Regions from separate parts of the Homo sapiens genome. Here region 1 is linked to region 2. The links are contacts of gene promoters, found by promoter capture Hi-C in blood cells and fetal thymus (Javierre and others, 2016). All regions are on one chromosome and are shown on one strand. The core of a region is centred on a gene start or on the middle of the fragment in contact, and the rest is flanking DNA. Distances in the headings are between cores, read along the strand shown.

The links. The method cuts DNA at HindIII sites, captures the fragments that hold promoters and counts their contacts. A CHiCAGO score of 5 or more calls a contact.
Region 1: a contact is called between a fragment that was not itself captured here and the fragment with the promoter of RPS6KA2-AS1 in region 2, in 1 of 17 cell types (naive CD4 T cells). The highest score is 5.2, in naive CD4 T cells.

Annotation. Positions count from the first base shown.
Region 1 is chr6:166,988,395-166,994,053 of GRCh38, forward strand. No RefSeq gene overlaps it. Among named protein-coding and RNA genes, the nearest start is that of MIR3939, 6.7 kb to the right of the region's middle. The HindIII fragment of the contact is 4,276 bases long and covers 784-5,059 here.
Region 2 is chr6:166,900,146-166,905,965 of GRCh38, forward strand. RPS6KA2-AS1 (RPS6KA2 antisense RNA 1) reads left to right here and starts at 3,553. Exons shown (of 2, transcript NR_046644.1): 1 at 3,553-3,643; 2 at 4,155-4,924. RefSeq lists enhancers at 1,638-2,137, 3,308-3,989, 3,990-4,670. The HindIII fragment of the contact is 22,454 bases long and covers 1-5,820 here.

The DNA.
Region 1 (5,659 bases), core at 1,672-4,171, 88 kb after region 2:
ATTTTAAAACACCTAATTTGAAGGTATCAATTAACATAGCCAATTAACTGATAATATTAGCTATCCGTTTTCCCTCTAAAGCAGCCTTGTTGTCTGGGATATCAGCTGAGGTTTTTTGTCTCATGGCCACAGAAATGAAGAATGCAGACACACAAAGGGTGAAGTTAGAGAAGTGTAATAGGCAAAAGGAAAAGGACAGCTCTCTCTCACAGAGAGAGGTCCCAGACGGGTTGCCGTGCTGCAGTAAAATGGAGGGTTTTTATCAACGAGCTAGTAGGGAGCGGGTATCTTATCTACATAGGGCATGAAAACCTGGTTAGGACCAGGTGTGTCATCTGTATAGAGTGGAATCTCTGGCAGCCCCTACCCCATTCTTTTATCATGCAGGCAGGCTCTTAGCTTGGGCGACTCCACACTGCCTTTCTCCTTCCACCTTGCATGTGCTAACAAGAATAGGGGGAGTTTCCATGCCTTGTCCTGGGTACCTCCTTGCAGCTGCAGGCATTTCCCCCACCCCACCATGCAAGCTTCTAGCTAACCTTAGTGTGTCCCTGTCCAAAAAAGGGGAAAGGAATGTGCTCATTAAAGCCTACTGTTTTTACTGGGACCCATTTATGTAAGTTTGGTGACTACCCAAGAAACTCTCCCTCTGTGCCGGAGATGCTTATCTACATTATACAGTCCAATCTTCCAGGCTGCTCTTTGTTAAAAGAGAAGTGATTTATTTGGACTGCCTGTGGTTAGAATGGAAGTAATTTCTGAGCTGTTTTTTGTCAGAAGAAAAGCTTTTGTCAGGGACTCTTTCACCCTATCTACCTACCTAAATTATTTCTATCTCCTGTATTGCCTCTACCCATCTTAGTTCTCTGGCTGAGGTCCTGTAAATTAGACTGGCCAAAGACAGGTTTGTAGCCACAGACAAAACCCCTCAGACACCGAGTTGTAGAAGGAAGGGCTTTATTCAGCTGGGAGCATCAGCAGACTCACGTCTCCAAAAACCGAGCTCCCCAAGTGAGCAATTCCTTTCCCTCTTAAGGGCTTACAACTCTAAGGGGGTCCACATGAGAGTGTCATGATCGATTGAGCAAGCAGTGGGTATGTGATTGGGGGCTGCATGCACTGGTAATTACAATGGAACAGAACAGGACAGGGATTTTCACCGTGTTTTTCTTTTTCTATAAAATGTCTGTAATCTATAGGTAACATAACCGATTAGGTCAGGGGTTGATCATTAACTAGCATGTCCTGCCTTTAGGCAAAGAAAGGGAAGGCAGAGTTTTTCTTTTATTTGTTTCTTCTCAATCGTCTTCAGCTCAAAATAATCCTTATGCCAAAGAAGCATATGTTAGGGTGGCATATTCTGGTGTAACATCTTTGTCTCAGCAGGCAGTGAAAAATAATTTAAAAAGCCACCTTCTCTGCCTGCTGCACACTGCCCCTTGGTGGCCATCATTTTAACTGTCTTTGGTAAAGGTAGCTTTTCTTTTTTTTGCTTTGAGACGGAGTTTCGCTCTTACTGCCCAGGCTGGAGTGCAATGGCACATCTCGGCTCACTGCAACTTCCACCTCCCCAGTTCAAGCGATTCTCCTGCCTCAGCTTCCCGAGTAGCTGCAATTACAGGCGCCTGCCACCACACCCAGCTAATTTTTGTATTTTTAGCAGACGGGGGTGTTTCACCATGTTGGCCAGGGTGGTCTTGAACTCCCGACCTCAGATGATCCACCCGCCTAGGCCTCCCAAAGTGCTGGGATTACAGGTGTGAGCCACCATGCCCAGCCCAGAATGACCTTTGCTATCTCTTGCCTTCTGCATCTCTTCATTCAATCATTTTCTCTTAGTTTAATTCTAGTCAATTAAATTAAATTCTATAAATATTGAGAGAAAGCAAAATATCATGAAAAGAACATGAGCTGAAAACCAAATAGACTTGGGTGGTTCATCTCAGCTGCTAGCTGTGTGTCTGTGGGCATACTACCTAGCTTATTGGAACACTGTCTCATCTGTAAAATGGAGTTGTTTAAAAATAACTCAACATGCTCAGATCATGGAGAAAATGAAATTAGGTTGTATATTCAAAACAACTAATAATAGTTAATATTTTTATTATGTTATGATTGGGATTTTGAATACAATCTACTATCTAGCTATACATATTCACATCTACGGAGATTTTTATCCTAATTTACAAACAGAAAACTGAGGCAGAGAGACATTAGCTAACTTCCTGTGGTTAACATAACTAGTAAGTGGATTTGAACCCATGTAATGTGGCTGTAAAGTCCATGCTTTTAACCACTACACACAACCTGGTAAATCCTTGTTGAAATAAGAAAGCAATTTCAGTAAGTTGTACTGTACCAAAAGAAATGTGGAATTCATCTCTTTTCCCAACATGCTACTATCTTTTGAACATTTAAAAAAACTAATAGGCCATTGAGAACCTTATTTATTCACCACTACCTAAACTATCCTGATCTTTATGGGAACAGAATAGATGACTTCAATGAGAAGGCATTAATATTACTGAGTGCAGACTGAAAGACTATCTCGATGATTAACGACACATTTTCATTTTTTTTTTTTTTTTTTGAGATGGAGTCTCATTCTTGTTGCCCAGGCTGCAGTGCGGTGGCGTGATCTTGGCTCACTGCAACCTCCGTCTCCCAGGTTTCAAGTGATTCTCCTGCCTCAGCCTCCTGAGTAGTTGGGATTATAGGCACGCGCCACCACTCCCAGCTATTTTTTTGTATTTTTAGTAAAGATGGGGTTTCACCATGATGGTCAGGCTGGTCTGGAACTCCTGACATCGTGATCCACCCACCTCAGCCTCCCAAAGTGCTGGGATTACAGGCATGAGCCACCATGCCTGGCCTTCAATTTTTAACATTTAAGAAAAAGTGACATTCCAAGAATATGCAAGTGGAAAGCCAGAAAGCATTTCCCCTATCCTATCCTGAGTTTATTCTCATAAGAATCTAGTTGTTTAAAAACTAAGTTACTGGAACATATTTGTGATTAATTTTATGTGTCAACTTGACTGGGCCATAGAGTGCCCAGATACTTGCTGAAACATTATCCTGGGTGTGTGTATGAGGGTGTTTTGGGATGAGATTAACATTTAAATGGATAGCCTGAGTAAAGCAAATTGACCTCCCTAACATATGAGTGAGTCTCATCCAATCAGTTAGAAGCCTGAATAAAACAAAAAAACTGATCCTCCCTGAGTAAGAAAGAATCTCTCCTGCCTTCTGATCTTTTGACTGGGACATCAGCTTGTTTCTTGCCTTCAGACTCAGATTGAAACACTGACTCTTCCTGGATTTCAAGCCTGCTAGCCTCTGGTCAGGAACTATGCCATCAGTTCTCCTGGGTCTCCAGCTTGCTGGCTCATCCTGTAGACTTGCCAGCCTCAGTGATCTTGTGAGTCAGTTCCTTATATGAATCTCCTTATATATATACCCGTATACATACATATATCGTATTGGTTCTGTTTCTTTGGTAAACCCTAATACAATATTTATATTTCTTTGTTTTTTTTTTTAGACAGGGTCCCACTCTATCTCCCAGGTGGGAGTGCAGTGGCGAGATCATGGCTCACTGCAGCCTCAACCTCCCAGGCTCAAGTGATCCTCCCACCTCAGCCTCCTGAGTAACTGGGACTACAGGCCATGCCATCACGCTTGGCTAATTTTTGTATTTTGTGTAGAGAGGGGTTTTGCCATGTTACCCAGGCTGGTTTTGAACTCCTGAGTTCAAGCAATCTGCCCACCTCACCCTCCCGAAGTGTTGGGATTACAGGTGTGAGCCACCGCCCCGGCCAATATTTATATTTCTCAGACGCATCCTCTTTTTTCCATGTTCACTTGTGCAATTTTAGTTGATGTCCTTCTTCTTTCCTGGACTATTGGAATAATTTCCTTGTTCCAGTGTCAGTACATCCAATTCACCCATCCCCTCCTTGCTTCTGGAGTGCTCTTTCTAAATACAAATAGGCTAATGACATTTTGCTTTTAAACTTGTTTAGCACGCTATTTCACACCTTCAAGATGAAAGTCAAATTCATTAGATTGGTGGATAAAGTCCTTCCCAATCCAGTCATTTCTTCATCTCCAGCCACGCCACACTACCTGCCACTTCTTGCACAGAGCAATCTGCCTTAGCCTCTTGGTCTTGCACTCTTGTATGTTCGGGTACTTCTGCCTGGAATGCCTCTTTCTTATTCAATCAGGAAACTCTCATAACAGGTGTGTGTGTCTGACATTAAGTGTCACCTCCTTAGCATACATCTTGGATTTACCTCCCTGAAATCCAGGGGTGAAGGAGTCAGGGGTCTTTTTCTATTCATTGCCTTCAATTGAGCATACTTGCAGGGTGTGTTAATTCCTTGGCACTTTAGGTCTTCCCAAAATGCAGGCAGAGCAGGCTCTGGTGGACAAAGATAGCTGATAATGCAAATAACTTCAGGTGCCGGCAGTTGGAAGTTGGCCCAATGTGCAGAATGTTCTGTTCAGGGGCATGTGGGCTTGGCCTAACAGATCTGTTATAGCCCTAATATCATACTGTTGTTGGTTTTTCAATCAATGCACAAAGTTGGAAAGATATAGAGCTGACCCTGAACAACAGGGGTCTGAACCAGTGTGGGTCTACTTATATGCAAATTGTTTTCAATATATACAGTTGGCCCTCCATATCAGTGGGTTCCACAACTGAAACCAAGAATAGGTGGAAAATACAGTATTCTTGGGATGCGAATGGTCATATCCACAGGTTCCACAGGGCCAACTGTGGGATTTGAGTGTATGTGGATTTTGGTGTATACGAGAGGTCCTGGAACCAATCCCCCATGGATACCAAGGGATGTCTGTAATTTTATTTACAAAAAGAATGCAAATTCTTGACAGACTAAAAATGAGAATGAAACTAACAAAATTAGGAGGGGGAGGGGAAAAGACGAGAAAGTAAGAATGTACCAATTCCTCACCTCTCCTAGTAGGGAGCCAATATACAGTGTGTAAAATTTATAAATAATGATTTAGGTAAACAACCTAAAGTCATGAAAGCTTCTAGCAAAACTAAAAGTAATACAATTTTTTAAATTAGGAGTTAAGAATAAGTTTTTGTCCCTTTGAAGGATTTTCAGCTGGTGAGTCAAGATGTATATGTACAGTATTTAAGGTTATAATGAAAAGAACCAGAAGAACTAAAACCAGAAATTGTTAATTGCAGTTGGGTCTAGGATATGGTAACAGATAAGGTAGGTGGGTAGGTAGGTAGAGTAGCAGGGAGACCCTTACTTTTCTTTTAATATGTTCCCCCCTTTTGTTTGGATTTTTAACGATTATTATGCATTATTTCCATAACAAACAAATGTAAATAAAGTGTAGTTTAACTACAAAAAGTAACTTTTAGAACACCCTTAACAAATATTTTGTAGGAGTCAAATGAGGTAGGATCTATACGGTATGCATGAACATCAAAAAATGATCAGGACTTCTTAAGTCAAGTTAGTAAACTAAAAGATAATAGGCATAGGATCCAAATTACAGAGAGGGAGGAAGTATGTGTGTGTATGTAACATATCTATGTACAGTTGACCCTTAAGCAACATGAGGTTAGGGGCACAGACCCTCACAGTCAAAATTCCATCCCCCAAAACTG
Region 2 (5,820 bases), core at 2,303-4,802:
GGAGAACACACTGAGGAGAGAACTCCGCGTGAACACAATGCGGGAGAACTCCAGGTCAACGCACGGAGAGGAGAACGCCTGCTGAATGCACGGGGTTGGAGAACGCCGGTGAACGCCGGTGAACGCACGGGGAAGAGAACGCCACGTGAACACACGGGGGAGACGCCGCACGAACACACAGAAGGGAGAATGCCGGGTGAACACACACGGGGGAGAACGCCCACGCGAACGCACAGGGTAGAGAATTCCGGGTGAAGGCACAGGAGGGAAACGGCGCGCGAACGCTCAGCGGGGAGAACGCCTGGTGAATGCACGGGAGGGAGAAGGCCAGGTGAACGCACAGGGGGAAAATGCCGCGCTAAAGCACACGGGAAATAACGCCGAGCAAACACACAGGTGGGAGAACGTCGCACGAACGCACAGCGTGGAGAACGCGACGTGAACGCACACGGGGAAGAACACTGCGCGAACGCACAGCAGGGAGAACGCCACTTGAAAGCAAAGTGAGGGGAGAATGCCGCGTTGAACGCACAGTGGGGAGAACAACCCGCGAACTCATAAAGGGGAGAACGCAGCGTGAAAGCACACAGCGGGGAGAACGCCTGGGGAACGCAAAGAGTAAAGAGAATGCCTTGGGAACGCACAGGAGAGAGAACGCAACCTGAACACACGGTGGGGGCTGGAGGAAGAACGTCGGGAGATCACACAGGGAGGAGAACGCCAGGTGAACGCACAAGAGAAAACGCCTGGTGAACGCGCAAAGAAAGGAGAAAGCCAGGTGAACGCACAGGGAGAACGCCGCACAACCGCACAGGTAGGAGAAAGCCATGTGAACGCACAAAGAAAGGAGAACGCTGAGTGAACGCACACAGGGCCGAGAACGCCAGGGGAACGCACACAGTAAAGAGAACACCGAGAACGCCGTGGGAACGCACAGGAGAGAGAACGCCACGTGAACACACGAGGGAGAACGCCGCGGGAACACACAGAAGGGCGAATGCCCGGCGAACGCACAGAGGGGAGAACGCCAGGGGAACACGCACGGGGGAGAACGCTGCGCGATCACACAGCGGGGAGAACACCGGGTAAACACACACTGGGGAAAACACCGCGTGAACGCATAGAGGGGAGAACCCCGGGTGAACACACAGAGGGGAGAGCTCCGTGTGAACACAAAGGGAGGAGAACGCCTGGTGAGCACACACGGGGAGAGAACACCGCGCGGACCCACAAGGGGGAGAATGCCTGGTGAACGTACAGCGGGAGGGGAGAACGCTGGTGAACGCACAGCGGGGAAAACGCCATGTGAACGCACAAAGGAAGGAGAACGCCAGGTGAACTCATACAGGGGGTAGGAACGCCAGAGGAAAGCACACAGTAAAGAGAAGGCCGTGGGAACGCGCAGGGGAGAGAACGCCGGGAGAACACAGAGGGAGGAAAATGCCAGGTGAACGCACAAGGGGGAAAACGCCTGGTGAACGCACAAAGGAGAAAGCCAGGTGAACGCACAAGCAGCAGAACGCCAAGTGAACGCACGAGGGGAGAATGCTGCGCCAACACACACGGGAAACACAACCGCGCGAGCACGCAGTGGGGAGAACGGCACGCGAACGCTCAGCAAGAAGAACGTAAGTTGAACGGACAGCGGGGAGAACGCCGCCCTAACACACGCGGGAAATAACGACGCGTGAACACACAGCAGGGAGAACGCCGCGTGAAAGCACAGGGGGGAGAACGCCGCGTGAATGCACACACGGGAAATAACGCCGTGTGAACACACAGCGGGGAGAACGCCGCGTGAACGCACACAGGGGAAATAACGCCGCGCGAACACACAGGGGGAAGAACGTCACAGGGACGCACAGTGGGGAAACGCCATGTGAACGCACAAAGAAAGAACGCCACGTGAACTCGCACACGCGGGGAGAACGCCGGGGAAACGCACACAGTAAAGAGAACGCAGTTTGAACGCACAGGGGAGAGAACGCCACGTGAACACACAGAAGGGAGAATGCAGTGCGAACACACAGAAGGGAGAACACCTGGTGAAGGCACAGAGGGGAGAACGCCGAGCGAACGCACAGGGTGGAGAATGCCATGTGAACGCACAAAGAAAGGAGAACCCCTGGTGAACGCACACAGGAGAAAGAATGCCGAGGAACGCACAGAGTAAAGAGACCGCCGTGGGAACACACAGGGGAGAGAACGCCACGTGAACACATGGGGAGAACGCCGCGGGAACACACAGAAGGGCGACCGCCTGGTGGATGCACAGAGGGGAGAACGCCAGGGGAACACACACAGGGGAGAACGCTGGGCGATCACACAGGGTGGAGAACGCCGGGTAAATACACACTGGGGAAAACGCTGTGCAATCGCATAGAGGGAAGAACGCCGGGTGAACACACAGGGTGCGTTCTTCCATCATGCGGCTGCGCCTGAGTCTCTGAGTCTACTCTGGCTTAGAAGGCTGCCTGATTCGCAAATTGTTTATTGCTCAATTACATGCTTTTAAATTTAATTCAGCTGAAGTGTTTCTTTTCTCACGGCCCACCCACTAGATGTGGCTCTGTCACTGGTGCTGGCCAGTGGGGCGTGGAGGGACCGGTGTCCTTCCCAGCACAGACACAAGGAAGCGGCTGTGCCTTCTCCACACTCTTCTCCCTGACTCTTGGCTACAGCTGTAAACCCAGGGTTAGATTCAGGGGCCTGTGACCTCCAATGGGAAAACAACTGCATTATTTGTACCTCATATTTAGTATTTCCATCAATTATGAGTGTAGGCAAAAAAGCACAGTAGCTTCAGCAGGACTGGTGTTTTGCTGGCAGTACAAAACATTTTCATATCCTATTCCTTGCTGTCTTGTGTTTTCTTTAATGTGTTAAAAAATCTTATTCTGAGACCATCAGGCCACTGGAAGGGGTTCATGGCACAAAAAAAGATGCAGCCCAGCAATAAGGTGAAAGAGAGATGACGGAGCCACTGGACACAAGAAGCCTTGCACCCTGAGTCACCCCGTGGAGCACTGACGAGCCTCGGCTCCTGATTCATTATGCGGAGTGCTGCCTAGTACCAGGAGCAACAGCACTGGACAGGGACATGAGTAAGAAATAAAACTTCCAGAGCGTGAAGCTAGTGAAATGATGGGATGTGTTTATCACAGGGCTAGCATCATCCTAACCAGCATGGAGACATGCGGGGCTGTGAACGGGAGCCTAGAGCTGCAAATTAGACAAGCCTGGGCCAGGAGACCTTTTGCAGGCTGCAAAGCTGCTCTCTCCTTTGCCTCCTCTGTACCTCAAAGGACCTGGGGTGGTGAAGGGAGTTGTGGGCCGACCTGAGTCAGCCTGAACAGGCTGTTCCTTCAGCAGATTCCTCAAGCTCTGCCCCGGCCCCTTCCTCGGCCCACCCCAGCTTGCCCTCCAAGGGGTATTATCACTGTGACCCTCGTCTCCTCCTCCTGTTCAGGCTTTGCCTTGGCAGCGCAGCAGTGCCCCTCTGCAAAGGGGTCTCGCATGCTGTTCAGCAGCTCTCTTCCCGCCACAGCGATGGGCAGCCGGATCCCAGCTGGAACTCCGCCACATCCCAGGAATGTGAATACCAGTGGAATCCGGATAGGACGGTGTGACCCAGGCACAGTGGGTGAGAACCGGAGCTTGGCTAGCAGGCAGGGGTTCAGCTGCTTCCTGACCTGTGCCCTGGCACCTCTGACCTGGCCGGAGCTTCTCAGGCAGTGACCACTGCTGAAACTTTGAGACCCCAACATGTGTGGGAGCATTTCTAAGCCTTCCTTGCATGGACACACTCCTCCCTAACGCTGTCCCATTTTCCAGACAGGGTCTCACCCACCCCGCACTGCTGCCCCCAGTGCTTTGATTCAGCCCCTCAGCTGTGAATGGAGTTGGTTCCTCATATGAGATCTCAATAAGACTATGGTGGGAGTCGGCGTAGAGCAGGGAAAGCCTGGACTTTCTGCCAGAAGGTCGGGGTGGGGCAGTGCAGGCCACGGCACCTCCCGGCTCTGTGCACAGGGTGGGCCACCCCAACCCGGCTCCTCACACTTCACGGCATGCAGCAGCCTCCTGGGCCCTGGGAACATGCAGACTCTGAGCAGCAAGACTGCGCAGGACCCGACATTTGCATTTCTAAACAGCTCCCAGGGGACGCCAATGCTGCGGGCTGAGGCCCACGCTGGAGGAACACCGGCCAGTGGGCAGCTTTGGGTGAACTTCAGAGTGGGTGGAAGCGCAGCTGCCCCGCCTGCCCCCACGGCTGCTGCGCGATCAGGAAACACAGCACACTCCTAAGTGAGTCGTCACCATGGTGACTTTTGGATTCCCACTGCCAGTTCCTGTGGAGTCAGAGAGATCTTAGCTCAGAAGTGCTGACAGCAGGGGCTGGCTGGCCACTGGCCACATGGGAAGAGGAGAAAGGCAGCAGGAGCCACCGTGAGGCAAATGAGCTACAAGACGCCGCTCCGTCTGATTTCCCGCCACAGCTCCCAACACAGGTGAAATGGCTCAGAACAGCTCAGCATGTCCTACTGAGGGGCAGGAAGGATGCTGAGAAAATCCCAGGCAGCGGTCTCAGCTGGGATGTAATTTGAGGGCGAAAAAGTTGTGTTGCTTGCGGTTTCTTCCTTGCTCCTTGCAGGTTATATTTGAAATGAATGTCAGAGCCATGCGGCCGCTGCCAACTAATTCCCAGCTAAGAAGGTAAACACCAGCATCACCTGGGTCTTCTGGTCTACCTGATTCTGCAGCTCAGAGGGAACCATGCAGCTGGCAAAAATGACAGCGAGGGCAGGACTATGACCCAATTAAAGGAATGTGAGTTAAAACATGGGGAGCCAAACACCCAAATTCCAGCCTGATCCTAACTGTATGTAGGCATTAAACCCTTATGCTGTCATTCCCACCACCGAGTAGAAAGTGTGGCACGTGGCTTTGTATCACTGTAAATATGATTCTATTTTACTGGCCTTCAGCCTCCCTCCTTTTGCTCACAGCCTTTACTGCAGCCAGCAGAGAGGGGCACTGCCTCCAGCACAGCCCAAGCGAGCTGGCTTTCCATGGAGGCTCGAAAGGGCTCCCTGTCTCCTGCACACTCACATGGCTTCTGCTGCTGGACACGCACATAAAAGCATGTTTGTGAAGCCTTGCATGGAATCCACAGCAGAGGTGCAAGGAGATCCAGGGGTCTTGACCTCCTGAGATTCTTTGGGGCGGCAGGGGTCGGGCGTTGTATAGCGATATTTACGTTTTTTCCATTCTGGAAACCACAGAGACAGTGGGAGGGGGAGATTCTCTGGTCAAGAAATGAAATAGAATGGAGAAGCAGAGAGAAGAGGAATGAGGAAGCTGGGTGGTACCAGGTCTCCCTGAAGAGGGATAGGGGGGCTGGGTGGTACCAGGTCTCCCTGAAGAGGGATGGGGGGCTGCGTGGTGCCGGGTCTCCCTGTGCTCACAGCACCGTGTGTATCCCCTTCGAGTGCCATGGGAGGTGTGTGACTTCTCTGAAAGGCAGGAAGCGGCAGGGACCACATTTCTCCTGTCACCCGGGTATTCCCAACCCCTGGCTCACTGCTTCTCCCCCAGAGCAGGAACTCTGCAGACAGTTGCTGAATAAACAAGTGAACCAATGAATGAAATAAAGGTGAGACCCAATGGGAAATGCAAGAGTTGCCAGGAACAGCAGGAGGACCACACTCCTGGGAGATCTCCCACGCCATGAATTATACCACCACACACCCACACGCATGCTGCCCGCGCTGTGGAAGCATAGCACAACCCTGTGTATGGAGCACACACCCCCCCAGA